Regions from separate parts of the Homo sapiens genome. Here regions 1, 3, 4, 5 and 6 are each linked to region 2. The links are contacts of gene promoters, found by promoter capture Hi-C in blood cells and fetal thymus (Javierre and others, 2016). All regions are on one chromosome and are shown on one strand. Each heading gives the region's core, a stretch centred on a gene start or on the middle of the fragment in contact. The rest is flanking DNA. Distances are from core to core; before and after follow the strand shown.

Evidence for each region. Contacts are between HindIII fragments. The CHiCAGO score rates a contact against its expected background, and 5 or more counts as called.
Region 1: a contact is called between a fragment that was not itself captured here and the fragment with the promoter of TMSB10 in region 2, in 6 of 17 cell types (non-activated CD4 T cells, naive CD4 T cells, naive CD8 T cells and 3 more). The highest score is 14.0, in non-activated CD4 T cells.
Region 3: a fragment that was not itself captured here is called in contact with the fragment with the promoter of TMSB10 in region 2 in 1 of 17 cell types (non-activated CD4 T cells); the score reaches 5.8 in non-activated CD4 T cells.
Region 4: a fragment that was not itself captured here is called in contact with the fragment with the promoter of TMSB10 in region 2 in 1 of 17 cell types (non-activated CD4 T cells); the score reaches 5.4 in non-activated CD4 T cells.
Region 5: a fragment that was not itself captured here is called in contact with the fragment with the promoter of TMSB10 in region 2 in 1 of 17 cell types (non-activated CD4 T cells); the score reaches 7.9 in non-activated CD4 T cells.
Region 6: a contact is called between a fragment that was not itself captured here and the fragment with the promoter of TMSB10 in region 2, in 1 of 17 cell types (non-activated CD4 T cells). The highest score is 5.1, in non-activated CD4 T cells.

What each region holds. Positions count from the first base shown.
Region 1 is chr2:84,652,733-84,657,486 of GRCh38, reverse strand. DNAH6 (dynein axonemal heavy chain 6) reads right to left here. Exons shown (of 77, transcript NM_001370.2): 34 at 3,613-4,168; 35 at 2,705-2,827. Among named protein-coding and RNA genes, the nearest start is that of DNAH6, 140 kb to the right of the region's middle. The HindIII fragment of the contact is 209 bases long and covers 2,159-2,367 here.
Region 2 is chr2:84,902,985-84,907,398 of GRCh38, reverse strand. TMSB10 (thymosin beta 10) reads right to left here and starts at 1,743. Exons shown (of 3, transcript NM_021103.4): 1 at 1,681-1,743; 2 at 1,282-1,396; 3 at 728-1,010. The coding sequence starts at 1,381. The coding sequence ends at 976. It overlaps LOC105374836 (a long non-coding RNA gene), which reads left to right and starts at 378. Exons shown (of 2, transcript XR_940308.3): 1 at 378-736. RefSeq lists enhancers at 417-476, 281-1,480 and a silencer at 1,447-1,986. The HindIII fragment of the contact is 2,703 bases long and covers 1,124-3,826 here.
Region 3 is chr2:84,694,185-84,698,894 of GRCh38, reverse strand. It overlaps DNAH6 (dynein axonemal heavy chain 6), which reads right to left. Exons shown (of 77, transcript NM_001370.2): 46 at 4,415-4,646; 47 at 1,168-1,320. Among named protein-coding and RNA genes, the nearest start is that of DNAH6, 180 kb to the right of the region's middle. The HindIII fragment of the contact is 8,907 bases long and covers 1-4,710 here.
Region 4 is chr2:84,676,917-84,681,374 of GRCh38, reverse strand. It overlaps DNAH6 (dynein axonemal heavy chain 6), which reads right to left. Exons shown (of 77, transcript NM_001370.2): 41 at 4,239-4,370; 42 at 1-18. Among named protein-coding and RNA genes, the nearest start is that of DNAH6, 160 kb to the right of the region's middle. The HindIII fragment of the contact is 4,438 bases long and covers 498-4,458 here.
Region 5 is chr2:84,736,913-84,741,375 of GRCh38, reverse strand. All of the region lies in intron 62 of DNAH6 (dynein axonemal heavy chain 6), which reads right to left. Among named protein-coding and RNA genes, the nearest start is that of TRABD2A, 140 kb to the left of the region's middle. The HindIII fragment of the contact is 1,283 bases long and covers 1,001-2,283 here.
Region 6 is chr2:84,721,013-84,725,810 of GRCh38, reverse strand. DNAH6 (dynein axonemal heavy chain 6) reads right to left here. Exons shown (of 77, transcript NM_001370.2): 60 at 3,007-3,186. Among named protein-coding and RNA genes, the nearest start is that of TRABD2A, 160 kb to the left of the region's middle. The HindIII fragment of the contact is 2,597 bases long and covers 1,932-4,528 here.

The sequences.
Region 1 (4,754 bases), core at 1,014-3,513, 250 kb after region 2:
TACTAAATAAATGGAGAGAAATACCACATTCATGGATAGGAAGACTAAATAGTCTTAAGATGTCAATTTCTCTGATGTTATCTATAAATTCAACACAATCTCAGTTAAAATTCCAGCAAGTTACTTTGTGGATTAATTGACAAACTGATTCTAAAGTTTATATGGAAAGGCAAAAAACCCAGAATAACCAACACAACAAAAAAGAACAAAGTTGAAAAACTGACACTACCCAACTTCAAGACTTACTATACAGCTGCAGTAATCAAGACAGTGGGTTATTGTTGAAAGAATGGACAAGTAGATCAATGGAACAGAATGGAGAGCACAGAAATAGACCTGCATAAGTACAGTCAATTGATTTTTAACGAAAAAGCAAAGGCAATCTGATGGAGAAAGGACAGTCTTTTCAAAAAATGGTGCTGGAACAACTGGATATACACATGCAAAAAAACAAATCTAGACACAGACCTTATACCCTTCCTAAAAATTAACTGAAAATGGATTATAAATGTAAAGCAAAAAATATACAGTTTTTAGAAGATAACAGGAGAAAATCTACATGACTTTGGGCTTGGTGATGACTTTTTAGGTATGACACCAAAGGCACCATCCATGAGGGAAAAAACTGGTAAGTTGAATTTCATTAAAATTAACTTCTACTCTGTGAAACACACTGTTAAGAGAATAGAAGATGAAATATTTATACAATCTGAAGAGAAACCGGAGTATTGTTAAGAAAATAAAAAGACAAGCCATAGACTAGGAGAAAATATTTGCAAAAGATATAATCTGATAAAGAATTGAATTCAAAATATATAAAGAACTCTTAAAATTCAACAATAAGAAAACAAACAACCCAATTTCAAAATGGGCCAAAGACCTTCCTTAATAGGCACCTCATGAAATACGATACATAGATAGCAAACAAACATATGAAAAGATGCTCAAACCATTTGTCATTAGAAATTGCAAATTAAAACAATATACTACTACGTGCCCATTAGAATGCATAAAATCCAAAACACTGACAATGCCAAATGCTGGCAAGGATGTGAACAACAGGAATTCTCATTCATTATTGGTGGGAATGCAAAATGATACAGCCACATTAGAAGACAGTCTTGACAGTTTCTTACAAAGCTAAACATATACTAAATAATTCAGCAACCACATTCCTAGGTATTTACCCAAATATGGTGAAAACTATGTCCACACAAAAACCTGCACATTAATGCTTATTAAGAGTTTAATTCATAATTGCCAAAACCAAGATGTCCTTCAGTAGGTGAATTGGTACATGAACTGTGGTACATTCATACAAAAAATATTATCCAATGCTAAAAAGAAATAAGCTACCAACCCACAGAAAGACATGGAAGTATCTTAAATGAATATTACCAAGTGAAAAAAAGCCAGTCTGAAAAGGCTATGTACTATATGATTTCAACTGTATAACATTCTAGAAAAGGTAGAACTACAGAGATAGTAAAAAGATCAGTGGTTGCAGGGGTTAAAGGATGGGGAGTAGGGATGAATATGTAGAGCTTAGAGGAATTTTAGAGCAATGAAACTATTCTGCCTGATACTATAATGGTGGAAACGTGACATTATGCATTTTTCAAAACCCATGAATTGCACACAAAGAGTGAACTCTAATGTAAAATAATAATGTATCAATAGTGGTTCACCATTTATGCAAAGTGTTAATAATAGGCGAAACTGTTTGGGGGTGAGGGAGTGCATGGGAACTCTCATTTCTGTTCAATTTTTCTATAAACTTAAAACTGCCCTAAGCACAAAAATGTCTGTTAATTTTTAAAAAAGTGAATTCAGAAAAGTTAAAAATCTTAAGGTAGCCAATGACAAACTCTCAATTCTGAGAATTACTGTCTTTAATAAGGTACTCTGAGACTAGACCATAATATTCTTAAAACTGTTGATGCCTAAAAAGGAGGAAAACAATAGTTTTCTGGCTCATCTTTGGAGGGGGAGAGGCAGAGATGAAGATGGCTTACTTGGAGTAGGGGATGAGATGTGGGGGAAACATCTCAAAGGACTACTTGTTAAGCTAAGCTAAAGAGGAAAATTCTGTGTTAGAATGCAGAAGCTACAGAAAGTAGTATGAAACTGAGTTGTTTTGAATAACAATGTATAAGCTTTCCTTCACTTTGGGTGGAATTGTACCTCTGAGGTTAGAATGTGTCTTAGGTCTTGCACCTACTATTGGGGTAGGATGTAAATGAGTTTTCTTTTATCTTTGGCTGTCATAGGTGTTAAGGGCTCTCAAAATCCAAAAACAATGACAGTTAGGGTCTGGACTTAAATATTCTTTTTCTTCATTTTGCTTCCTTTTATTACTCCCAAGCTTTCTGCGAAGTCTCAATGCCTCAGGCTGTTGTAGCTGTGTTTTTAGGGACTCAAAAAAGTGGCTTGTGTTTCTAGTCTGGGGAGAAGCCAGGCAGAATAGGCAGGAGGCAGGGTGAGTAGGCAGGCTGGCAGGCTGGGGTAACAAGAAATGAGGACAGATTTGGGGAGTATATAAACATTCCTGGACGATTCCAGGAATTCACAGGGAGGACTAGGTAAAATAATGAAGTCCCCTCAATCAAGAACCATGAGTCCTTAACCTATTGTTATTTGTGCACTAGAAGGCAACATGAGTCCTGACAGATGGAGATATTGGGGAATATCTGATGGCACTTACTTTTTTAGAAATACCCTTCATCCAAGTTTTAACATAAGGCATCCATTTCAGTTCTTCAGGATCCACAAACACCATTCCACATCGACTGACTGTTGCAGGGGAGGCAACCCGCAGATCTTGCACCTAAAGTTGAAGAAAATTGAACAGGAAACAGCTAATATGATACTTCCTTATTTCTCCAACTTCAATGTTCACACTTATAAAATGATTCACACTTTTAAAGTCTAACAACACTGAAGGGCTTCATGTGGAAGAGAGTGGGAGAGCAATAAGTAATTAGAAATGGAGGAAGAAAGTTAAATGACGTATAAGGTGAAAAAAATTCCCACAACTACAGGAGGATACTGTCAAACTCTATGGGCAGGGCTAGTTATTTTTTTCTTTCTTCTCTTTGCTTTTCTCTTTTCTCCTGTTCATTCTTGTATTAGAATCCCTAGCACATACTAGACATTCAATCAGTATTTGATGAATGAATAGAACACAGGTGGCATCCTTCATAATGTTGGTAGCTGTACTTGGTCCACATTCCTCTCCCAATCCCTCATCAAATATTCATATCATGGTGGGATAATTTATTCTTATTAAATGCAATAATTTTTAATTTAAAATGCATTTCAAATGATACAAAGCTCTCTCTCTCTCTCCTCTTTCTTTCTCTCTCTCTCTCTCTTTCTCTCTCTCCCTCTCTCAGGGAAGCCAGAGTTTATTGTACTTCCTATTTATAGAGACAAGAACATTTGAGACTTTGACTGTCAATCTATTACAAAAGGATGACTTAATAAGTAAGTAAACAGAACACAATAATAGACATTATAGATAGTAAAGGCTACATCAGTGTGAGAAAAAAATGTAACGATAGTATGCCAATTTAATGAATGATTTCACTCCACAGTAATGTGTACACTTACCTCAAAAAGCATGTGAATTTGAGGTGTGAGTTTAATCCTCTCACTGTTAGCCAGGCAAAGCATCTTGTTATCATCCAGCACTGTATTCATGTTTTCAATCCAAAGAGCATCTACTGGCCCATCACTGATGATCCATTTATGGTCTTCTGAAGTATCATTCACAGCTGCTCGGACACTTAGTGCCATCAAACCATCTTTCCATTCCAAGGTTAAGTTATTAACCTCTCCATATAATTCACCCATGGTAATTGATTTAGGGTTGAGAACATATGTTTTAACTGCTTGGTAAAAGGAATTTTCTATCCCAAGTTTTTGTAAATTCCCTAAAGTTTCTGCTAGTATTCGGTAAACTGTGGTCTTGCCGCCTCCTGTTGGCCCGACTAACATAACACCATGCCTTACTAGCATAGTTTCATAAAACTGTATCACCTTTCTAACCATACACATCTCAGGCTGAAGATTTTGTCTATTCATGACATCCACAATTGTTGATTGTAAAATACCATAATCATGTTCTGGAATTTGGACTCCAGGAAAAAGGTCAGATATGATTCCACTGTCAAAACAAAAATAAAATCAATTAGGAACAACTGGTCATTGATATTTTCCCGTATTTGTTACAATCAATGAAATATTATGAGTCTTATTGTTTCTCATTGATCTTTCTCTTCTGACATGTACAGTATTAGTTTGTCCTATGTGCTGTACCAGAATCTATCATTTCTCTGATATCATGTATGATTTTGTTTGTTTCCTGTACAGTAGACCAATGTTCCTAAGTATATTAGGAGCTTCTTGGGAGTAAGTGATATCTCTTATGTTTCTTTCTGTATTTCCCACAGTACATGGCATAGTACCAAACATATAGAAGGTGATGAACTTATTTTTAATTATTAAAAAAATTATAAAATATCTCACTTAAAAATTTAAAATTATTTTAAAATTTTGTTTAAAAATTATATTTATAGCTCAACTTTTCCTAAAATCACTTACATATACTCATTAACTGTATGTGGCTATTCAGAAAAATAAGATGAATGTATAATTAAAATTAGCATCATGCAAGAAGGAAGGAAAAATGTGACTATTTCTATAGGAAACAGTTAGTATGAGATGTTTCAATGGGAAAAAAGAAGCTAAAT
Region 2 (4,414 bases), core at 494-2,993:
GCTGGTCCTATTCCTTCCCTGTGGGTTTGAGGTGTCATCCCTTGGAGCTTGGCCGCCAGCGCCAGCGCCAGCCCACCCTTCCTCCCTCCCACCACATCCCCACCCTTCCTGCTGAGCACTGGGTGGTAGCAGATCAGTCTAGCACTTCCTCTAATGGCTAATGTTTTTGTGGGAGGTTCTGAACTAGGGTTAAAAGACAAAAGCTCTTCCCCCCTCCCCTCCCCCAGTTCTAGTGTTGGTTCTTCTAGTTCTGACGTTCCCGTTGCTGTATCCCTAGATCCCGCCTTTGTTTTAAGCTCCCGAAGAAAGGCTTCCGGAGACTTTGTGACCTCACCCAATTTCCAACATTCCAGATTGTCTTTTCTTTCTTTAAAATCAGTGTTCCCTTCTGAGTCAGCTAGGAGGAGGCCAGAGGGAAACAGTGGGGCTTTCGAAGCTTATCAAAAGCAAACCTTGCTCTTTTGAAAAAGCATTTTCCAACGCAACCTGGGGACAAAGTGGGGTTAAATTTTACACAGATTGCTTACGAGCAAGAGTTAAGTGGCTAACAAGTCATGAAATCTTACGGAGAAGCAGGTAAAGCCAAAATTAAAAACTCCCTCCGAGTCAGCCCATTCTGCGACCCACCTCCTCCCCTTTGCGGCAGGAACTCTACTCCATCGAGGGGCTTTGCTGCAGTGGCACTGCCCACGCATACTCAACTAAAAGACTCAGACCACGCCAGCCATGCCACGAGGTGTGTTTTATTTTCATTATTCATACAAATAATTTTCTATAATATCCCGGGGCAAACCGGAGAATTTGGCAGTCCGATTGGGGGGGGGTCCCTTCAGAGACCCACAGGCCGGTGGCATCGGCGCGGAGTGCCCAGGTTCACAGTGCAGCTTGTGGCTCGTGTCCATCTTGCAGGTGGCTCTTCCTCCACATCACGACTGGGGTCTCGAAGAGGACGGGGGTAGGAAATCCTCCAGGATCTTAGGAAATTTCACTCCGCTTCTCCTGCTCAATGGCTGTGGAGAGCGGGAAGCGGGCGCTGGAGGGGAGCTGCAACCCCCACCCGCAACCGAGGTGCTTCCCGGTGTGGGCGAGGCACCCACGAGGTGTGGGGATTTAGAAGGAAGCTTGGGGCTGGGGAGAAACAAGGCGCTTTGTGAAACTGAAAGAGTGGCCGGGGCCGCCCACACCGGGGACAACGGCGGGGTGGGGGGTGGAGGAGTGGGTTTGCAAGGAAGAGCAGGGTGAGGGGCTGGGCTGGGGCGCGGGAGACCGAGGCACACTCACTCTCTTTGGTCGGCAGGGTGTTCTTCTCCTGCGTCTCCGTTTTCTTCAGCTTGGCCTTATCGAAGCTGGCGATTTCCCCCATGTCTGGTTTGTCTGCCATTTTCTTAAAACAATCCTAGTGGGCAAACCAAGGCGCTTGACCTGGGCCTGGGGGCCAGCGTCCCCTTCCGCGCTCCCCGCCGACGCCTCTCGACGTGGCACTCGCGCCAAGGCGTGCCGAGCAGCCCCAAGGCCGAGGATCTGGGCGCGTCCCGCACCCCTCTTCTCGGTCCCAGGGCGTGGTCGCCGGCCCCTGCGTCCGGTCCGAGAAGGGCGCCTGTCGCGGTTGCGGCGCGCCCGCCCGGTGCACCGGATCCGACCACACCCTGGGTGGGCCCCCCGCCCCGGCGCCGCACTCACCGTGCAGTCTCGTTCCGAGCCCGAGATCCTGGTGCTCCCACTCGCGTTGCTGCAGCAAGAAACAAAAGAGCGGCGCCCGCCCCTAGCCTTATATACGCCGCGCCCCGCCCCGCCCCTCACCCGCCGCAGCAGGGGCGGTGCTGGCACCCGAGGGGCGGGAGCAGCGCGGGCTGCTCCTCGCCCTGCCGCGCCCCCCGCTGGGCTACCAGCCCGGCTGGGCGCGGCTTCTCCCGCGCCGGGCACCCCCAGCTCGCAGTGTGCCCAGCGTGGGGGCTGTAGTCGCCGCCAGAGTGGGCGCCAGGCCCCCGGCTTTGCTTTTGCGGCTACATTTCCCCCTTTCCGGGAATCTGCTGCTCACCCCGCAGAAAGGATATGGGACCGGCGTGGGAGGGTGTGTGGTTTTGTGCGTGTGCAGATATGATGTGTAGCCGTGGGTGTGGATGTGCGGGCGTGCACGCGCACTCTGCAGCAATCCTCGCTCTAGGAGACGCCCCACCCCAGTCGCCCCCAGGCCTCTTGCTTTTGCTCCTCCAGAGTCCCCTTCCCTCCCCCACTTTTCCTCTCCTTAGGGAGGCTGAGTCCTAAGGTGGTCCTGCACTAAAAGAATTCGAGCCGAGGGTCCCGTAGTGGAGCGGGGGGCGGGGGGGTGTAGGGGGAGGGGGGAATAGGTTTCCAGCGCTCTTTGCTCAGGTTGGGGGCGGTTGCCTTCTGGTCAGTCGTCCCCTGTTCCCTGAACTGGGCGGTTCCAGCAGGATCGTTGGCGTGGCGGGTGTTCCTTAAATGCTGTTAGACGCATTGTGTGAAGGGCTGTGGTGGGAACAGGGCGTCCCGAGAAGGCTCGCAGTTTGCCTTTTCTCGTCGAGCTCCTAGAAACACTGTATCAGCGGGTGCGGTTTTCCTCCTTGAAGTTAACCTTGAGGATAATAGAGACCCACATGCCTACAAACGTTCTTGTTTTTCTTATTAACCCATTGTAGGAGTGGTATACTGCAATTATTCACATCTTTCTTAGAAAAGTTGTATTTTCAGCCTGTGCAACACCGTTAGGTAATAAGTTCCATAAATTACCAGCCCCGGAGTTAAGGCTGGTCATTCTTTTATTTGTCCTGACCTTTCCTTTTTTAAGTGTGAAGTATTACCGAGCTCTTTAAAGTGGGATTTGGTGGTGACATCCTAAATTCGGTCCTGATTTTATTTATTTACTTTTTTTGAGACAGGGTCTCACTCTGTCACCCAGGCTGGAGTGCAGTGGTGTGATCACGGCTTATGGCAGCCTGGACTTCCCCGGTTCAAGTGATTCTTCCACCTCAGCCTCCTGAGCAGTTGGGACTGCGGGCGTGCACCACCACTAGCGGCAAATCTTTTGTGTTCTTTTTGTAGAGACGAGATTTCACCATGTTGCCCAGGCTGGTCTCGAACTTCTGGGCTCAAGCCATCTGCCTGCCTTAACCTCCCAAAGTGCTGGGATTACAAGCCTGAGCACCACTCCCTGCTTCTCCCCTCCTGATTTTACCTGCTTTTCTCACGTTCCTTCAGTTTGGAACAGTGGGAAGAGAGCATAGGCTTGTGTGACCTTGGGCAAATCTTTTCCTTAGTTTCTTCATCTATAAAATAGCCTTGGCATAAACTGAGGTGAGATAAAGAAGAGGCATAGAGTGGATACTTTTTCTTTCTTTTTTTTTTTTTAGCAGGGTCTCTGTGCAGCGGTGGGATCACAGGTCACTGCAGCTTTTTTTTTTTTTTTTTTTTCTTTTTTGAGACGGATCTCACTCTGTTGCCCCGGCTGGAGTGCAGTGGTGCAATCTCAGCTCACTGCAACCTCCGCCTCCCGGGTTCAAGCGATTCTTGTGCCTCAGCCTCCCAAGTAGCTGGTATTACAGGCACGTGCCACCATGTCCGGCTAATTTTTGTATTTTTAGTAGAGACGGGGTTTCACCATGTTGGCCAGGCTGGTCTCAAACTCCTGACCTCAAGTGATCTGCCCTCCTTGGCCTCCCAAAGAGCTGGGATTACAAGTGTGAACCGCTGTGCCTGGCCTCAAGTGGATACTTCAAATAGCAACCTCATTAGAATATCACACTTATATTTGATGAGTGCATTGGTTAACTTCTGCTGCAATATGCCATGTAACAAACCACCCAAAGCTTAGGAGTTTAAACAATGATTTATTCTTGTTCCTATATGGGCAGGTCAGATGGTGCTGGGCTGGGCCGGGCTGAGCTTGGCTCCAGACTTTGTATTGGGTCTAGGTTTGCTCCACAGGTATCTTATCCTCTGGCTGATTCTTTGGTGATGGCAGAATAGCAAGAGGGTTGTACTGCAAGATAGTGTAGAAATGTTAAAGTGTCAAAGCCTGTCATATCCTGTCATGTTTGCTGCCATCCTATTGGTCAAGCCCACCATCAACAGAGTGGGGAAAATATTCCACCTATGGTAAGAGAGGGAGGGTAGTGAACATTTCTTGAATGAAAGTGGAACTTCACGTCAGGGTCAGCAAACAACTGGTAACACACAGCCCCCAAGGTGGCTTAATGCAATACAAGTTTATTTTCTTTTTTGTTTTTTGAGATGGAGTCTTGCCCTGTAGCCCAGGCTGGAGTGCAGAGGCATGATCTCGGCTCACTGCAATATCTGCCTCCCGGGTTCAAGCGATTCTCCTGCCTCAGCCTCCCGAGTAGCTGGGATTACAGGCATGCACCACCATGCCCGGCTAATTTTGTATTTTTAGTATGGA
Region 3 (4,710 bases), core at 924-3,423, 210 kb after region 2:
CCATGTTTCTGTAAAGGACACAATTTCATTATTTTTAATGGCTGTGTAGTATTCCATGGTGTGCACATACCACTTTTTCTATATCTAATCCACCACTGATGGGCACCTGAGTTGGTTCCGTGTCTTTGCTATTGTGAATAGTGCTGCAATGAAACATACAGGTGCATATCTCTTTTTGGTAGAATGATTTATTTTCCTTTGGGTATATACCAGTAATGGGATTGCTGGATCAAATGGTAGTTCAAAGTTCTTTGATAAACTATCCTGGAGCTATTATTTCTGGAAGTGGCTCCTGATTTCAGCTGCTTCCTGATGTGATGGAGGACACATGGCTCTGGAGCTGGCGGCTGATGCAGAGGCACACTGACTGGTTTAGTGGCTCCCTGCTTCAGCAGGAATGGTTGTGGCAGAGGCAGCTACCTCCTTGACCATTGACTTCTACAGTGTACATTTTATATTCATTCCAATCAGTTCAGTCTGGAATTTCTTTCTTTGGCCCTTCCAATGATTCTGTGTCCCTTTAATAAATCCCTTCCTGCTTACATTAGCAGAAGTAGACTTGCATCTGTACCTATAATCTCCGACCTAGCAGGAGAGACAATTCTCACAAAGGGAAACAGTAAAGATATAAGAAAGAACAGCCAGAAACTTAAAGAAGGTGCAAAAACAAGGAAAAAAGCTGGGGTGAACAAGTAGTGGTGTATGGGATCTAGCATGGTGCTGGAGAATGGAAGTGTACAGCAGCCACACTGTTCCCGAGAGAGTGAGAGAAAACACATTCCTGCTTTGTTGTGTCATAACATTGCTGCTAGGCAAGGGCATCAACAATGCTGGACCTATGCCTTCAGCCCGCCACAGGTAGGGTGCTGCAGTGTGTGAAATAAACTGGTGCTTAAAGAGGAATAAGAGAGGCTGGCCAGTTTGGACAAGACTATGACCTCTGTGGGGCAATGGGATTTCTGTTTTCTGCTTCCCACAGAACTTTCTGGAAGTCTGGTGACCCAATGCTTTAAACACCGAAAATAAAATACATCGAATACAAAGGAAACCAATTATATTGAAAAAAATTTTATTCATGGACCCCTTCAGGCAATCAATGAATGGTTAAATAAAAGGTGAAGAAACGTTTTTGTGATAAAGCCACATAACTACTCTGGCACATCCTACCTCGTCTCTGTTCCCCTCAGAAATTCCTACTTCTTTTGCTCTTGGTCTGGTGGCCGCTAAAACCTGCTCCAGTTCATCCTTTTCAAATAAATTAGGCACTTCACCTGAGTTCAGGATGTTATTTATATCTTCTAGGAACTCCTCCACTACAATCTGTAGAAGAAAGCAGTGATCATTACAACTTGCTCAATCATTTTCCATTTATTATAAAGCAAATATTTATTCTAAAATTCACATGAATCAATTTCATCTTTAAGAGAAGATAATCTTAAAAATTTCATGGAACCCTGAAGTTCTAACATAGCAAGTACACTGATTTTTCATTTTTCCTTTGTGTTTTGTTTCTTAGCAGGCATTCCCATTTTACCTTGGTCAAGTCATATGTGCAAGTATTTTATATTCTGCCCCTTTCAGTTACCATTTTATCATTAATACTAACCCATAGTTCTGTAATGTACTCATCATATTTATCAAAAATATAGAAGCAGAATGCACCATTGAGCTGATGCACCATACATTTGCACGGACAGAGATAGTTTACAGTCTTGTTTACATTATAAGAACAATTTTAGGCATATATCTTTTCCCCTTAGTTGGATTATTTTCTTGAAACAAATTCCCAGGAGTGAGATTACCAATTAAATGCACAAATATTTTCTGGATTTTGAAGATTTTACTATTTCTCATTCAATTCAAGTGTGACTTCATCAATTTTTAACATTTATTTTTGTTAATTTGGGAGATATAATAAATGCTTTCTTTTGGAGAATTTATTTTGGATGTTTTTGATTATTAGCAAGGGAAAATATTATCCCACATTTATTATTGTCCATTAAAAAGTCAGTCTAAACTTTGCAACCACCTGCATCTTGGAGTTTTCTTTCAAATTTGCATGAGTAATTTACATATTTTGAAATAGACTTTTTGTCTTTCAACATTGATGCAAATATTTAAAAGCAATCTCTCGTTTACCCTTTATTTCAGTTAACTTTTTAGTTATATAAAAGTTTGAGTACTATATATTTAACTATGACAAGATATCTGTTATTTTGTTTTCTTCATTTGAAACTTTTTGTTTTTCTTAATGAACTTGGTATAATTGTGTCTGTCAATTTTCCCCAAGAGCAAACACTAGTTTTCTGTGTTCTAATTTATTTTTGCTTTATCTTGTTCCATTTTCTTATGTGTCTTGTGACATTTGTTCCCTCCTAAAGTTTTAAGTAAACTAATTTGTGTAGTTTCTAATTTTTGATTCAAATCTACAAATGTAAATTTGAGAACTGCTGGGTTGCATTCCATAGATTTTTATTTATATTAAGTTCATTTTTCTTAGTCTCTAAGAGATTTTGACTTTCTTGATCTTTATATGAATGTTTTAAAGTCCTAAGACACATCATTAATTTCTCCCTTAATTAAAGCATGGGCAAAGAATGTTACGAGTACAGCTTATGCTTTTAACAATTTAATAAAAATTTCTTTAAATCTAGTATATGATTAATTTTTGTAAACATTCAGTAGTATTAGAAAATATTTGCTTTCTCTGTAAAATATGAAATATAGTATATAGCTATTAATTGTAGCTTAGAAATTATATTATGTAAAATATCTAATCATAGTTATTTCTACTTTGTATTTGTTAAGTTACAGCCAATTAAACTCTATTTTTAACATCTTGTTTCTCTCAATTTCTTCTCACATTTATAATGTTTTGTGTATATATAAGTTCATGTATAGACACATGCATTTTTATTTTTATGGTTACGTTTACTCTTCATTATTGTAGAACATTTGAGATTGATTGGGGCTTCCAACAGAATGTAGTAACTTTTTGTCTAAAGAGAAGCAACACAATATGACTTGATCTTTGGAGCTTTAATACTTGGAGACTTTTTACATAACTTGTTTGATTTTTAAAAGCAATGTTAAAAGCACTATCAGAAATATCTTAATTTTAGGATAATCAGAAACTACAGATAAGCAACTAGACAATAAAAATCACTCACAATCCCAAGATTCAAATGTTTTCTCTTTGTACACAGGGCATACATGTCTAGATATACATTAAAATGTGGATGCTTCTAAAATATAATTTTACAGTTTTTACACAGTGCTCTAGTATATGGTTATATCAGATATTATGTATATGACTTTCTCTCACTGGACATTAATACTCTCTCAGATTATTATTTAAAAACATTACAATAGATATTCTTATACATGCAACTTTGTACATAGCTTTGAGTATAACGTAAAAGAAATGTAAAGGCTTTACCTACATATTGCCAACTACCTTCCAGAAAGATTTTGCTAATTTATAATCTCCCAGTGAAGAATAAACAGGCCTATTATTCCCACACCTCTGCCAACTCTGTATATTATGATTTTTTACCATTATCAACTTGCAAGGCCAAGTCACTCGCATTTTTATTTATTACAATTTCCTTCATTAATGGTGAGGTTGAAAATTTCTTCAGGTGTTTAAAGCCCTTTGTTTTCTGGAACTGTGTATTCACATTCTATCACATTTTTTCTATTTCTTCTATAGATGTGCTTGACTTTTCCTTTTTCATTTGTGATAAGTATTTTTATAATAAGATATAAACTCATTGCATGTCATAGATACTAAAAATATTTTTCCAATTTTTTCTTTGTATTTAATTCTGCTTACAATATTTAAAACATTTATGCATCAAATCTATCACTTTTTTATTCGTTGGCTAATTTCTAGATGGGTTTATTTTCTCTAAAGAAAAAATACCCAAGAATAATCAATGTAGAAAGTCCTCTGCTATAGAATTAATTCAAGATCAGTTAATTTAGCTGTTGTAGATATAGATGTAATCCTACTTCAATTTTAAAGGTAATTTAACCCAAAAGATAGCCCTTACTTTTTCCTTTCTGTAGGTAAAGTCATGTTTCCCTAATTGAATTTTTGGTAAATTATTTTCTTATATGCACTTTTATAGTTTATTACCTTCTGTTATCTTTGCCTTTTCCCTCAAAGAAAAGTTAAAAACTTACCTCCTCGACCTTTGATCAAATTTAATTACTAAGAATTTAAAGAGGGAAACAATACTTGGTAAAATAAATAAAAATGTATTATAAAAGTCTTTTACAAGCTGCAGGAAATCTGTTATCAAAGGGAACAATCCCCTTGAACTTCATCCTACAAACTGTTCAAAGCACACACCCGATTGTAACACCCATACATTTCCTGTTCTCACCCATGGGCTATTTAAACACACACCTGGGTGTCAGTGAAAAGGAAAACCATATTCTTGTCTTCTACACCAGCCATTTTGTACAACTTCCTCAGGTCTTCATGAAAACTATCATAATTATATCCCCGGCTGAGTTCAATCTGCAAACATTTGTAACCGCATATATGAGCTGCAAGTCTCGTGAGTGACTGCTTTCCTGTGCCTCCTACTCCAACAAGCAGGGCATTGCCTCTTTCTTGACGTATCATCCGAGCAATCCTGCAAACATCAGAGCAGAGGGTTTATTTCAAGTTCACAGACATGGCTCCTGCTCAGAGAGCCT
Region 4 (4,458 bases), core at 1,467-3,966, 230 kb after region 2:
GAAACCATTTAAGATGGCCTAGAACCAGAAACATAATATGAGAGGATTAGATTTATTTTAAACCAAATATCTATCTTTTAAATACTCCGGATGATAACGTTTTCTAATAATAGAAAGCCAAATTCCAACACAAAGTCTTCTGGTATCAAAGCTCTTCTGCTCATTTCAGAAAACATTCTTGAGAATGCGCTCACTCCTGTCTTCTGTGATTGTTTTGTGATGCCTGAGTGGCATTCATATCTGACTAGTGAATTTACATGAACACACTCTCAAGTAATTTAGACCTCTGCTTGAGGTGAGTCCAAGGGGTCATCACGAAGGGCACAAACCCACCTGGAAATGAACAGAAACCCTCTCTCTCACTTTTATGGATGAATGACCACCACTCTCATAGACTTTCATCTTCATGTATATTTTAAATGCGACTTACTTGCAATGGTGAACTCCCTCACACTTCAGCTTCCCCATCTCAGTAGCTGGCCATTCCCTCCTAAGCTTAGATCAGGAGCTTGGAAGTCTCTTTATACACCTCCCATTTTCTGTCCTGCAAAATCAATCTTGAACACATTTCTTGGATCTGTTTGCTTCCCTCTGTTTCCCCGGACATCACCCCATCCTGGCCCCTACTCTTTTTTATCTGGACTTCTCCTCTCTCTCCTTCACTCTGGCCTCTCCATTTCCATTCTGGTCTCCCTGCTGGTCCACCCTTCCCCCAGCATCCTCACTTCACCCCTCCCTTCCATTGCTCCCCATGTCCCCGCCACACTAGTCTGAACACCCACACTCCTTCCCACCTCAGGCCCCTGCACTGCTGCTCCCCTCTTCCTGTGCCCAGCCCTCTCTGCTTGGCAGGTGCCCTTTCATCCTTCATGTTTTAGGTTACATGCCGTCTCTCCAGAGAGGCCTTTCCTGACCACTCAGTCTAAAACAAGTCCTCCCATCAGTCTCTTTGATCTTCTCATCCATAACATCACAACTTGAACATGTGTATTTATTAGCTAGTCCTTGACCCGCAAGTGCTTGGAAAAATCATTATTGTTTTTTAAATAGATAAATTCTTATTACCATTAACCCTGGAGTAACTAATGGGAGAAGCCACGAGAATGCATATCAATGGTTGCAAGTTAGTCTAATCTGAAGTTGTGACTTCAGATTTGGTGTCATATATGAGATCTTTTGAAATAAACCTGAGTATTTGTTTTCAGTGGGTCTCCTGTTTAACATTTGCTTTAACTTGTGAGGATGACCTCTTTAGGTATCCCCTCCTGGGACCCCAACATGAGTTTAACATACTCCACATGGTCTGTATTTTATGTAGGACCATCTCAAACCCAATCTTTAAATTTGATGAAAATCTGTCCATTTGTATGTGTATGATGGAGAATAGACAAGCTGATAATTTTATTTATATATATGTTATATGTATGTAAAAAGCTCCAGCCTTCTGTTCTCCATGACACAAATACAAATAGTTTCTAACATATACATGAGTAACTGTGTGTCTATATCTAGATATCTCATTCATCTCTTCATTATCTGTGTCCATGGAAGAAGATCCATGAGGACAGGGATGATACACCAATATCAGGCGTATGGAAGGTGCTCAACAAATATTTGTTTAATGAATGAATTAAAGGCTACTAAACTGGTATCCATACATTAAAATTAGCGTATCATTATAGAATTTACTGAGGACCACAGCCTAGTATTCTACTTAAGGATCTGGCTTACATGATCTGTTTGGCAACTTTGCAAAACTCTTACTAAGAACATGCACGCAAGATGCAGCCAGGTTTCTTAGTTTTGGGAGGATTCTTTGGCATAAGCACATTATCACTAGTTTATGGAGCTGATCACGGTTTTCAGTTACTGCGTTATAGCTTTCTAACTAGAAATTTCATTAAATTTAATTTACCTGGTTGTGTGCTGTTCGGTTTACCCTTAGAATGTATAGTGATGCATATTTTGGCACATAAATTTCCAGTAAGTAAACATTCAGGTTTGTATGAACTATGGTCTGAGAAAGAGTCACTTATAATGTACATATTCCAACGGTGCAAATCGTGTCTGGGCATTAGTGGTGCGCTCCCTGCATATATGCACTATTTAACTAATTTGCAACAGACTATCAAAGAAAGTACAATGATAGGACTAATCGTGTTAACACTAATAGGTTATTGAAAACATTATATATAATATACATGTACTATTTAGACTCATAGGCTTCTTTTATACAGTAGAAATAAATCTATTTATATATGTTGCTAAAAATAAATTTACTTTATTGATTTTGCTCTTCTTCAATTCTTGATTATATCCAAGTTCTTTTTCCTCCAAACAGTAATGAAGGACAGGACAGACGGGTGATGAATTCTTGGGTCCTGCTAAGGTGGGATGTGATGAAAAATGAAGTTTGAGATCCATGGGCCTAGAGCAAGTTCTTTTTTCCTACAGGCAAAATACCCTGTCCGTTGTAATGAGAGCAATATTCTTTCCCACCTGAATTCAGTCCAACCTGGTAGCCCCCAGAATCTCTCAGTTTTGCCACATATCATTTCTATTTCCCCTTATAGCTAGTGTGGGTTTTAAATGTAAACCTGTAAAGTTACAGTGGGAAGAAGCAGCCTTATCACAGCCAGTTTTTAGCTATGATGTGCTTGCTGGATGATGTTCCCATGGGTGACACATTTCCATGGACATGATAATCCCACAGGAGGTTGAGAGTTGGGGACCATGTCTTTCCCAGTGGCCCAGGCTTCACTGTATTCTTCCCACCCACAAAATGGAAATCATTCCATTTTGGAATGATGAAGAACGATGTTTTTGTAGTCATAAACCTGAATTTGCTTTAACTTAATAAAAAATGAAATAAATTGCAAATTCAGTCTCTTCTAACCAGGCATAAGTTTCTTGAGACACCCCTCACCACTCACCACATCACAGTGTATCTGTGGTGTGGTTGGGAATCACTCACTTCAAACTTCAAAATATAAATATAAAAGTTCTCAAAAAAGTGTGCAGGCCTTAGACAACCCTTCTAATGGCTTTGGTGGTTGCTGTTATGTCTTGTTTTATACTCTGGTGCTTAATTATAGGAGTGAAGCTCCCATCTTTTCCTATTTTCTAAAGCACTCTCCGAAAGTTTTTCAAAATGTGGCAGTTTTTATATACCATTTTGGCATTAGCTCCTAAACAGCTTATTGGAACTACTTCAATTTATTAAAAATAATTTCCCACAGAAATAAGCTATTTCAATACAAACAGAAAATTCCTTTCCATGTACTGAAGGTTGTATACATGCGGGGTCTGTCCCTCTTGAGAGAGGGCTTCTACTGGAAGAAGTTGATGCTGGTGAATGTGGAGGTTCACTTAATTGCCACATCCTTGGGCATCACTGTCCACGTCACTGTCATCAGCTTCTCCAGGCCAGTCACCTGAACTGTCTTATTCTACCTTTGTGCCCACCTTACCATTTCCTGCCTCTGCAGTTGCGTTCACCCAGCACTTCCTGTTCCTAAGATCTGTTCCTCCCTGTCAATTCCCAGCATCCCCAAGACTCAGCTCACAATCTCTCTTCTCTAAGCAACCTTTGCAGGTTGGTTATGCGGGGCTTTAGTCATGCTGCTTCATATTCTCTTACTGTTCTACTCAAAATAATGCCTCTCAATCTGTTGAGCACTTGTAGGGCAGGTGTTATTATTTTTCCCATATAAAGGATGGGGAAGTAGCCTATTAGGGAAGTGAGTACAGATGGACAAAAGATAGGTTATCATTCTTAGCGAGAGTGGCCAAGGAGATGAGTTCTGTTTTAGGTGTGTTGAGCTTGAGCTCTCTGGCATATCAGGTGCCAAGTTTGGTGGCAAGTGGACACGCAGACCTGGTGGTTAGGGATAAGATGAGCACAAAGGCAGGGGCTGGGTAGTGATGAGATCTGCCAAGAACTGTGTGTGGAGTGCTAAGTGGCAGGGACCTAAGATGCAGCCTTCTCTAAAGGTAGGGGTTTTGTCTGCACAATCTTTCTGCATTTCTAGAACTCTCTGAGACCAACAGATACAGAAGGCAGTGATGCAAATGCCTGCCAGCTACTCTCCAGGAGTCCATATTTACCTGCTTCCTGCTCAGGAAAGAGACGGATAGATGGACTCCTTAGAAACACAAGACACCACTTTGATTGTGGGAGCCTTGGAACAAATATGCTTTCTTTTCCTCCTGTTGCCTAAGTTAAAATCGACACTCACCTGAAAAATCTGTTTCAGACTGTGCTCTGAGGGCATTGGGAGGCACAGCATGCTGAAGTGTCTGATGAAGCGGGGAGTCACAGGGTTGCGGCCACCGCCTGGAGGTGCACATGCCGATATGATTGTTACATCCTGTGTGCAGAGAAATCCACTTGGATCACTCAGCAGAGAATGAAATGAGACCTGCCTATCCTAATGGTAGGACTTCCCAAATGCCAGC
Region 5 (4,463 bases), core at 393-2,892, 170 kb after region 2:
CAGGCTGCTGTGAGACAGATGTGAATGAACCACACTCCCCACAGCTTCTTGATCATGCTGCCTGCCTGGGCAGTGATCCGCCCTCCCTGTTTTCAGGCCCAAGGCACCATTTTGAGAATGTAGTGCTGAGCTGTGCCTCATCCTTGGCCTGAGTTTGGGCTGATGTGACTGCTGCTGCCACCCAGCCAAGCAGGGAAAGGGGACCAAGGCTCTCCTATATATACCTAGGACAATGTCCAATGCCTTGCTACGAGCTGCTATGAGACTGAGACTTGAGTGGACCACACTCCTCACAGCTTCTCGTCCATGCTGCTCGCCTGAGAGGGGCTCCCCACTCTCTAGGTGCAAGCCCATGGCTGACACCATTTTGAGAGGTTAGAGCCATTGTTTGGTAACCTGGCAGCGGTGGCCACAGCAAGCATTTTGGTCTTAGGTGAGATTAAAGTGCTTGTTCTGGAAGGGGAGAAGGGTCCCCACAGGCAGAATTGAGCAGTGAGTGTGGAGAGTGCCCCAGTAGTAGGTGGTGGAATTACGCTCTCTCCCATCACAAGACTGGAGTGGGAGGAGAGTTGCTGAAGCTGAGGTTTTTCCCAGAGGGCAAGACTTTCAGTCAGAGACAGCTTTGCAACCTAGAACTGGTCTGCATGGGTCATAACGGGGTGTCCCAGCCTGTTTCCTTGGTCAGTTGGGGAACAGTGCCCCACCAGCTCTGAGGCGTGGGAGGGAGGCAGACTCCACTCCCCTGGAGATCTAACCCTTGCTGCAGACTGTCCCTAAAGGAGGGGAGAGTGCAGCCCACCAAAGACCCCCTTGGATAAAAGAAAACATGGGTGCAGTGCCAGCCACTGAAGGTGGTACCACCAAAGCCTGGGAATGGACATGGAGAGGGGGTCACACTTGCTCCGCCACCCTTCTTCTCAGTGCCCTGTCATGGATTTGGAAGTGACTCTTCACTTTGGAGTCTGGGGAATGCGGGTTGAAAGAGTCTGTGTCTCAAGCTTCTCCAGCAGCTCTGCCCTACTGAGGGTGAATGTGCTCTGCAGAGGTGCTTTTTGTACTTCTCTAGTGCTTCCACCCCTGCTTGTACCCATCAGTTCTTACTCTTAAGCACCATCTACTAGACTGCATCCTGAATTACGCCACCAAATAAAATTACATTGCTACAACAAACAACCTCTGAGAAAGTCACTGCATGAACCTACTTGCAACCAAGGAACCTGTACAGAGAGTTGGCACTCTGAAAGCACCTAGAAATGAAGCCAATTAATCATACACAATATACATCACAGTCATACCCCCAAGGGAAAAACGAATAAACAAGAAGCCCCAACCAAGTGATACCAAATTAAAAAAAAAAAAAAGAGAAGTATCAGCTCTCTCAGATGAGGAGTAACCAGTGCAGAACCCCAGCAATACAAAAAGACAGAGTGTTTCATCACCTCCAAAGGATCCCACTAGCTCCCAAGCAATGGATCCTAACCAGAATGAAATGTCTGAAATGACAGATATAGAATTCAGAATATGATGCAAAGAAACTCAATGAGATCCAGGAGAAAGTTGAAATCCCACACAAAGAAGCCAGAAAAATGATCCAAGATATGAAAGACAACATAGCTATATTAAGAACAGAACAGAAGATATGAAAGACAACATAGCTATATTAAGAACAAAACCAACAGAAGTCCTGGAATTGAAAAATTCGCATCAGGAAATTCAAAATACAAATGGAAGCCTTAACAACAGACTAGACCAGGCAAAAGAAAGACTTTCAGAACTTGAAGACCAATCTGTCAAAATGACCCAGTCAGACAAAAGTAAAAAAGAATTTAAAAAATGAACAAAGCCTTTGAGAAATATGGGATTATGTAAAGTGACCAAACCTATGACTTACTGGCATTCATGAGAGAGAAGAAGAGAGAATAAGCAACTTGGAAAACATATTTGAGGATATAATTCAGGAAAATTTCCCCAATCTTGCTAGAGAGGTCGACATGCAAATACAAGAAATCCAGAGAACTTCTGTAAGATGCTACACAAGATGACAATTCCCAAGACACACTTGGGGATGGATAGGAGGGATAGGACTAACCCAAGTCCACGTGAAAGAGAACTTTAAAGGCACCTAGAGAAAAGGGTCATGTTGCTTATAAAGGGAAACCTATAAGACTAAAAACAGACTTTTCAGCACAAACCTTACAAGTCAGAAGAAACTGGGGCCTATTTTTAGTATTCTTAAAGATAATAAATGTCAGCCAAGAATTTCATATCCTTCCATGCTAAGCTTCATAAATGAAGGAGAAATAAAGTGTTTCCCAAACAAGTAATCACCAAGGGAATTTTCCACCACCAGACTGGCCCTACAATGCATGCTTAAGGGAGTTCTCAATGTGGAAACAAAAGAATAATGCTTGTTACCATGAAAGCACATGAAAGCACATAGCCCACAGTACCCATAAAGCAACTATACAATAAAGACTACAAAGCAACTAAGCTAACAACATTATGACAGCAACAAAACCTCATATATCAATTTTAACACTGAACATAAATGGCCTAAATGCTCAACTTAAAATACATAGAGTATCAAATTGAATGAAAAAACAAGACCCATTCTTCTTCTATCATCAAGAGACCCAATCTCACATGTTATGACACCTATAGGCTCAAAGTAAAGGGATGGAGAAAGATATGTCACGCAACGGAAAACAAAAAAAAGCAAGGGTTACTGTTCTTATATCAGAATTTAAACCAACAAAAATAAAAAAGGACAAAGAAGGGCATTAAATAATGATAAGGGGCTCAATTCAACAAAACATCTTAAGTGTCCTAGATATATGTGTATCCAACATTGGAGTACCCAGACTTATAAAACAAGCACATCTAGGCTTAATGAAAGACTTTGGCAGTACACAACAATAGTCACACAACACACAACACCCCATTGATAGCATTTGATAGATCACTGAGGCAGAAAATTGACCAATTCTGGACATAAATTCGACATGACCATTTGGACCTAATAGACATCTACAGAATACTCTCCCTAACAACCACAAGATACCCATTCTTCTTATCTGCATATGGAACATACTCTAAAATTGACCACATGCTTGGTCATAAAGCAAGTCTCAATAAACACAAAAATATCAATATCATACTGAGCATCTTCTGAGACAACAGTGAAATAAAAATAGAAATCAATACACAGAAGATCTCTCAAAACCATAAAATTACATGGAAACTAAACAAATTGCTCCTGAATGACTTTTGGGTAAACAATGAAATCAAGGCACAAGTAAAAAACTTTTTTGAAACAGATGAAAACAGACATGGAATGTATCAAAACCTCTGGGATGCAGCAAAGCAGTGTTAAAGGAGAGTTTATAGCACTGAAAAACTACATCGAGAAGTTAGAAATGACATCGAGAAGTTAGAAAGGTCTCAAATTAACAAACTAACCTTGTACCTAAAGGAAATAGAAAAATAAAACAAATGAAACTCCAAACTAGCAGAAGAAATAAAAGAACTATAATCAGGGCAGAAATGAACAAAATTGAGACCTCAAAAACCATACAAAGGATCAATGAAACAAAAAGTTGGTTTCTCGAAAGGATAAACAAGATTGATAGACCATAAGCTAGATTAACAAGGAAAAAAATACAGAAGATCCATAATCATAATCAGAAATAACAAAAGTGACATCACAAATGATCCCCCCGAAATATAAAGGATCCTCAGAGGGTATTATGATGAGCATCTCTATGCACACAAACTAGAAAAATCTAGAGAAATGGATCAATTCCTGGAAACACACAACCTCCCAAGATTGAACCCGAAAAAAACAAAAATCCTGAACAGATTAATGATGAGTAATGAAGTTCAATCAGGAATAAAAACCTACCAACCAACCAACTAACGGAAAAAAAAGCCCTTTACAACCAAATTGTACCAGATGTACAAAGAAGAGCTGGTACCAATTCCACTGAAACTATTCCAAAAAATTGAGGAGGAGGGACTCCTCACTATCTCATTCTATGAAGTTAGCATCATCCTGATACAAATATCTGGCACAGACACAAAAAGAAAAGAAAACAAAGGCCAATATCCCTGATGAAAATAGACTCAAAAATCTTCAACAAAATACTAACAAACTGAATTCAGCAGCATATAAAAAAGTTAATTCATCATAATCAAGTGAGCCTTATTCTTGGGATGCAAGGATGATTCAACATATAGAAATCAATAAATGTGATTCACCTCATAAACAGGACTAAAATCAAAAACCATATGATCACCTCAATAGACGAGGAAAAGCATTTGATAAAATTCAACATCCCTTTATGATAAAAATCCTCAACAAACTAGGCATCAAAGGAATATACCTCAAAATAATGAGAGCCATCAATGACAAACCCACAGCCAACATTATACTGAAAGGACAATAGCTGGAAGCATTCCCCCAT
Region 6 (4,798 bases), core at 1,981-4,480, 180 kb after region 2:
TCTCAAAATTCTCTAAAGAATTTCACTGTGAAATGGGTTTGGTAGAGGGTATCCTGGCCAAGGCTGTCACCTACAAATATGTTTTGGATTTCTGGTTTCCCTTCTAATCTGTAAAACTCCAGAGCTTTCATGATTCATCCTATATCACTTTTACTTTCAGCCCAAGATATTTTAGGGCCTTTTCACTTTTATTTCTTGAAGGAGATTTTAAAAACTTGAAGAGCATAAATTCCAAAACACCCAAGATAAGAAAAGTATTAACAAAAAGTCATTTAGGTGGCATTACAGGATTTGGTAATCCTTATTTTGCTTGGGTTAATACCTGTCAACTGAAGGAAGGGAGCAGAGATATAAGAACCCAAACCCTTGCCTCTAGGAATTGAGGTTTGAACCCAGCACAGATGGCTTTCAAAGGCTGCTAAAATGAACATCTTGTTGAAAGACAACCCAGGCCTATCTAAACAACTTGACTCCCATTTCTTTCAATTCCTCATTTCCATTCTTTCCTGGAAATAGAAACTGTTCCTGGACCTCCAACCATTATCGAGGGTACTAAATAAGACCTCTAGAGGAAAAATCAAGCTGTCATAAGAATTGTTTGACTATCTGAAGTTCAATAAGAATTGTTGGAATGTTATATGCAGAGATCAAAACAGACTCTTCATTCATGAAACACTCGAGCATTATGTGGTGCTAAGCACCATTGGGGATATGGGATTGGTGAGGCTTCATTTTTGCCTCCTGGGAGTTCAGGCTCCAGCAGGAGAGAGAAGCCAACCACCCAAGACAACGTGGGGTAACATTATGCCAGATGAAGCATATCAAATATTTTGGATAAAGACTGCTGAACCTGTTTGCTACTACTCCCATTGAGAGGTGGAGTCTAAATCCCCTTCTCTCAAACCTGGACTATCCTAGTGATTTGATTGACCAACAGACTGTAGCCGAATTGATGGTGCATGAAATCCAAGGTTAGGTCAGAAGAAGTCCTGGAGCTTCCATCTTGGTTTCTTTGAACGTTTACTTTGGGGAGAGGCCCTCTTGGAACCCAGTTGCCCTGTAGTGAGAAGCCCACGCCACAAGGAGAGGCCATGGCAGGTGCCATGAGTGACAGCCCAGCCATGTGAGTCAGCCATTTTGGATGTTCATTCCAGTCAGCCTCTAGATGTTTGCAGTCCCAGCAGCAGGCTTTGCTGGAGAATTTAGGAGAATTTAGAATGCAGTCCCAGCAGCATTTAGGTTGGGAGGAAGGCCATTTTAAACAGAGGGAGTGTCAGAAACACAAAAGCATCCAGTTAGTCTTGGGAATGTAAGTGGATCAATTTGGCTGTTGCACAGGAGTTGAGAGAAATGTGACTGGAGAGATGAAACAGGGACAGGCTGGATTTGGCTTTGAATTCCAGGCTATAGAGTATGAATTGTGTTGATGGGCAATATCTGTGAAAATTCATTTAGGACCTAGGTCTGTGGAACAGTGTTTTGAAAACACTAGGACTAGGCTGGCCTGGCTTCCAGGTGTGTGAGCCAGCATTGACTATACAGGGGCATATAACAGGAAATAGAGATGTGTTGCAGGGAAAAAGTGTTATGTTTACAATTCTCCACTGTTTTCTACTGAGTGGCATGTATGGAGGGAGAGGCCTTCGTTGGCTGAGTTGTGTCATGGGTAGGGTATAAGCATGGATGAACAGAAAAGTGAGAGTAAGTTAAACTGCTCTGCCCAGAAAAGGAGACAGCACTGCCAACAGGAAGTAGGAGCTGATGGGAAGACTGAGCCAGGGAGGCTTTGGTCGGGTGGGCTGAGAAGAGGCCACTGGCACCTGAGAGAACCTCTGATGCAGATGCTTGGTAGTCTTGCTGTATAGTGAGTAATGCAAACTCTCTGTCTTCCCTGGAAGTCTTTAGCAAAATTGGCATTGCCTGCTGAAGCTTTGTGGCATTGAATTTGCTTTTGAGAAAAAATGAATGCTGCTACAAAGAGGATAAGGGGTGAAAACATCCTACTCATGAGACAGCAGATGAAATTCAACTGTGAATATGAGATAAAGAAGAGAGGCTGAAATAAAACAAGAGAGTCTCATAGTCACATGGTGAAAGTGGGACAGAAACAAAGGAAAGAGATCCCTCTAAGTCAGAAGTGGGCGCAGGGAAGGAAGAACAGGTTGTTGCATAAAAGGTTTGGGAAATAAAAGATACATAAACCAATTTGGTTAAGGTCAGTGCTGTTTGGACTTGAGATACAACAGAAAACACTAATAGTGGAAAGGAATCTAGATTACTGCAGAGGATGTCTAAAGAAATGGGACTCAGCTGTGACTCTTAAAAAAGAGAGAAGGGCAGGCATGAAGGAAAACAAACATGCTAGCTAGTTGAGGAAGTCAGGAGCAAATGAAACTTGCAAAGGAGCTTTCTTCTCTTCCTCTACAGAGTGTTCTGTGCATACTGGGCAATCAAATCTTTAAAAAAAATTCAAATTTTATATATACCTTTTATATATATATATAATAATCACTAACTCTACTCTAAAAACTGCATCTTTGGAAGGGCTGGTGAAACCACTCTTTTTTATTTTTTATTTTTTTTGAGACAGAGTCTCGCTCTGTCGCCCAGGCTGGAGTGCAGTGGCACGATCTTGGCTCATTGAAACATCCACCTCCTGGGTTTAAGCAATTCTCCTGCCCCAGCCTCCCGAGTAGCTGGGATTACAGGCACCTGCCACCACGCCTGGCTAATTTTTGTATTTTTAGTAGAGATGGGGTTTCTCCATGTTGGCCAGGGTGGTCTTGAACTCCTGACCTCAGGTGATCCACCCACCTCGGCCTCCCAAAGTGCTGGGATTACAGGTGTGAGCCACCATGCCTGGCTGGAACCACTCTTGAACCTTGCATGCACCTGGGAGATTTTACCTGATAACTAGACTTATGGCTTATGTGAAGCAAGAAGTAATTCAACAGGTGTAATGGAGGCCAAAGAGATGACTGTCATTAACAACATGAACACACTTACCTGTTTAAAGTATTTTAATGAGTACTGGTACATAGGATCTATTTCTGAGAGGCTTGCAATGACAAAGTACATTACAGAGCCTTGAGTGGCCACTGGACGATACTTCTCACGAGCCACATTGATCATCTGCTCAGTGGACTCTGCTTCTTCCAGCCTGGTTTTAATGGCACCAGAAGTGATCTGAATAAACATACAATAACAAGTTCTTAGGGATCTGTTCCAGAAAAATAGTGGGACTTCTGGAATGTATCCAGTTAGGTCTAGGGAAGAAATAAGGATAGAATGAGTTGGTGATTATAATAAGGGGTCCCCAGGTGGAACGACTGAGTCTCAGGGCTCAGTGACCTTCTGAATAAGCTGACCTTTCTTCCTTCCAGAGTTAGGAATAGGCAGAGGGCAGCAGGCAATACAAGTAGCTTTGAAAACATAGAAGCAGCATGTCTCTGAGACTCAATCTGAATTACTCCTGCAATGCAAACACCATCACAGCACTCCTAATTGCTCCCGAACTTCTTTGTGAGCAGTCCAGGGCAAGCACAATGAATAAAGGAATGAAAGGAGAAGGGATACCCAGGAAGATGCCCAAAAGAAGGGAGTAGAGAGTGGCTGGGAGGCAGTGGCACCACATCCCTCCCTGGAATAACAAGGGTGACTAATATTCTTGTTCTTTACCTAGTATTCCCAGGTATAGACATATGGGATAGAAGCTGTTGTTTGTGGAGGATTATAACCCCAAATGAGTTAGCGATGCTTTCAAGGTCTTTTGGTTTTCTGCATTTTGGGTTTGTGGGTCTGGGGAGCCCTCTGGCCAATGGGCCTTCCAAGATTCCCTTCTCTATGTCTCTCAGTCTCTCTCTTTCTACTGCTGTCTGCCCCTGCCTCCTCTCTCTTCCCCCACTGTTTTTCAGAGGTGGATATCCCTGGGTTGGGAAATCCTTTTCTCTCTAGAAAGTCAAAGGGTCTAGAGCAGGGACCATGAAAAATCACCAAGGGAACTGACTGCTCAGTATTTGCTCCATCAAAGCTAAAAGGAATCATCAAGTTCCTGTATAGACCAGTGCTTTCCAATGGAAATATAATGTGAGCCACATAAATAATCATACATTTTCTAAATTTATTAAAGATAAAAAGAAATTTTAATAGTATATTTTTAATCTACCCAAAATATTATATCAACATATAATCCACATAAAAGTTACTGAGATATTTTGTTTCTTTGGATTTAGCCCTTGAAATCTGTTGTGTATTTTACACTACCAATACATCTTAATTCAGGCTAGCCATATTTGAAGTGCTCAACAGCCACCTATGGCTAGTGGCTACCTACCATAATAAAGAGTATAAGTCTAGACTATTTACCCCAGCCCACCAGGAAAGGGAGGGGAAGGATTCAGTGCAGAAGCTGTTTCCAGGAATCAGAGATCAAACTCTCCCTGTAATAACCCCTTAGGGAGCTGAAGGGGAAATAAAGGGCAGAGTTGAGTAGGAAACCCCTATGTTAATATGGGACTCAACTAAAGCTTTCAAATCCAAGTAGAAAAAAAAAGTTGATATGGGATCAGTTGGTGGATCATGTAGGCCCACTAACAAATAATTCTTTATGTCTTAGGGAGCACAAGGCACTGATAATGTAGAAACCAGGGCTAAAGAGAAGGAAAGTGGATTGTTTTCATCTCCTTGCCAAAGAATATTAGAATACTATATGCTTCCGTTGAGTTTGGCAACTACTTGTAGACATTATGCCCTACAGGCTTGAGGTTTCAGCCGCGTTTAGAGAATATGAGACATATTT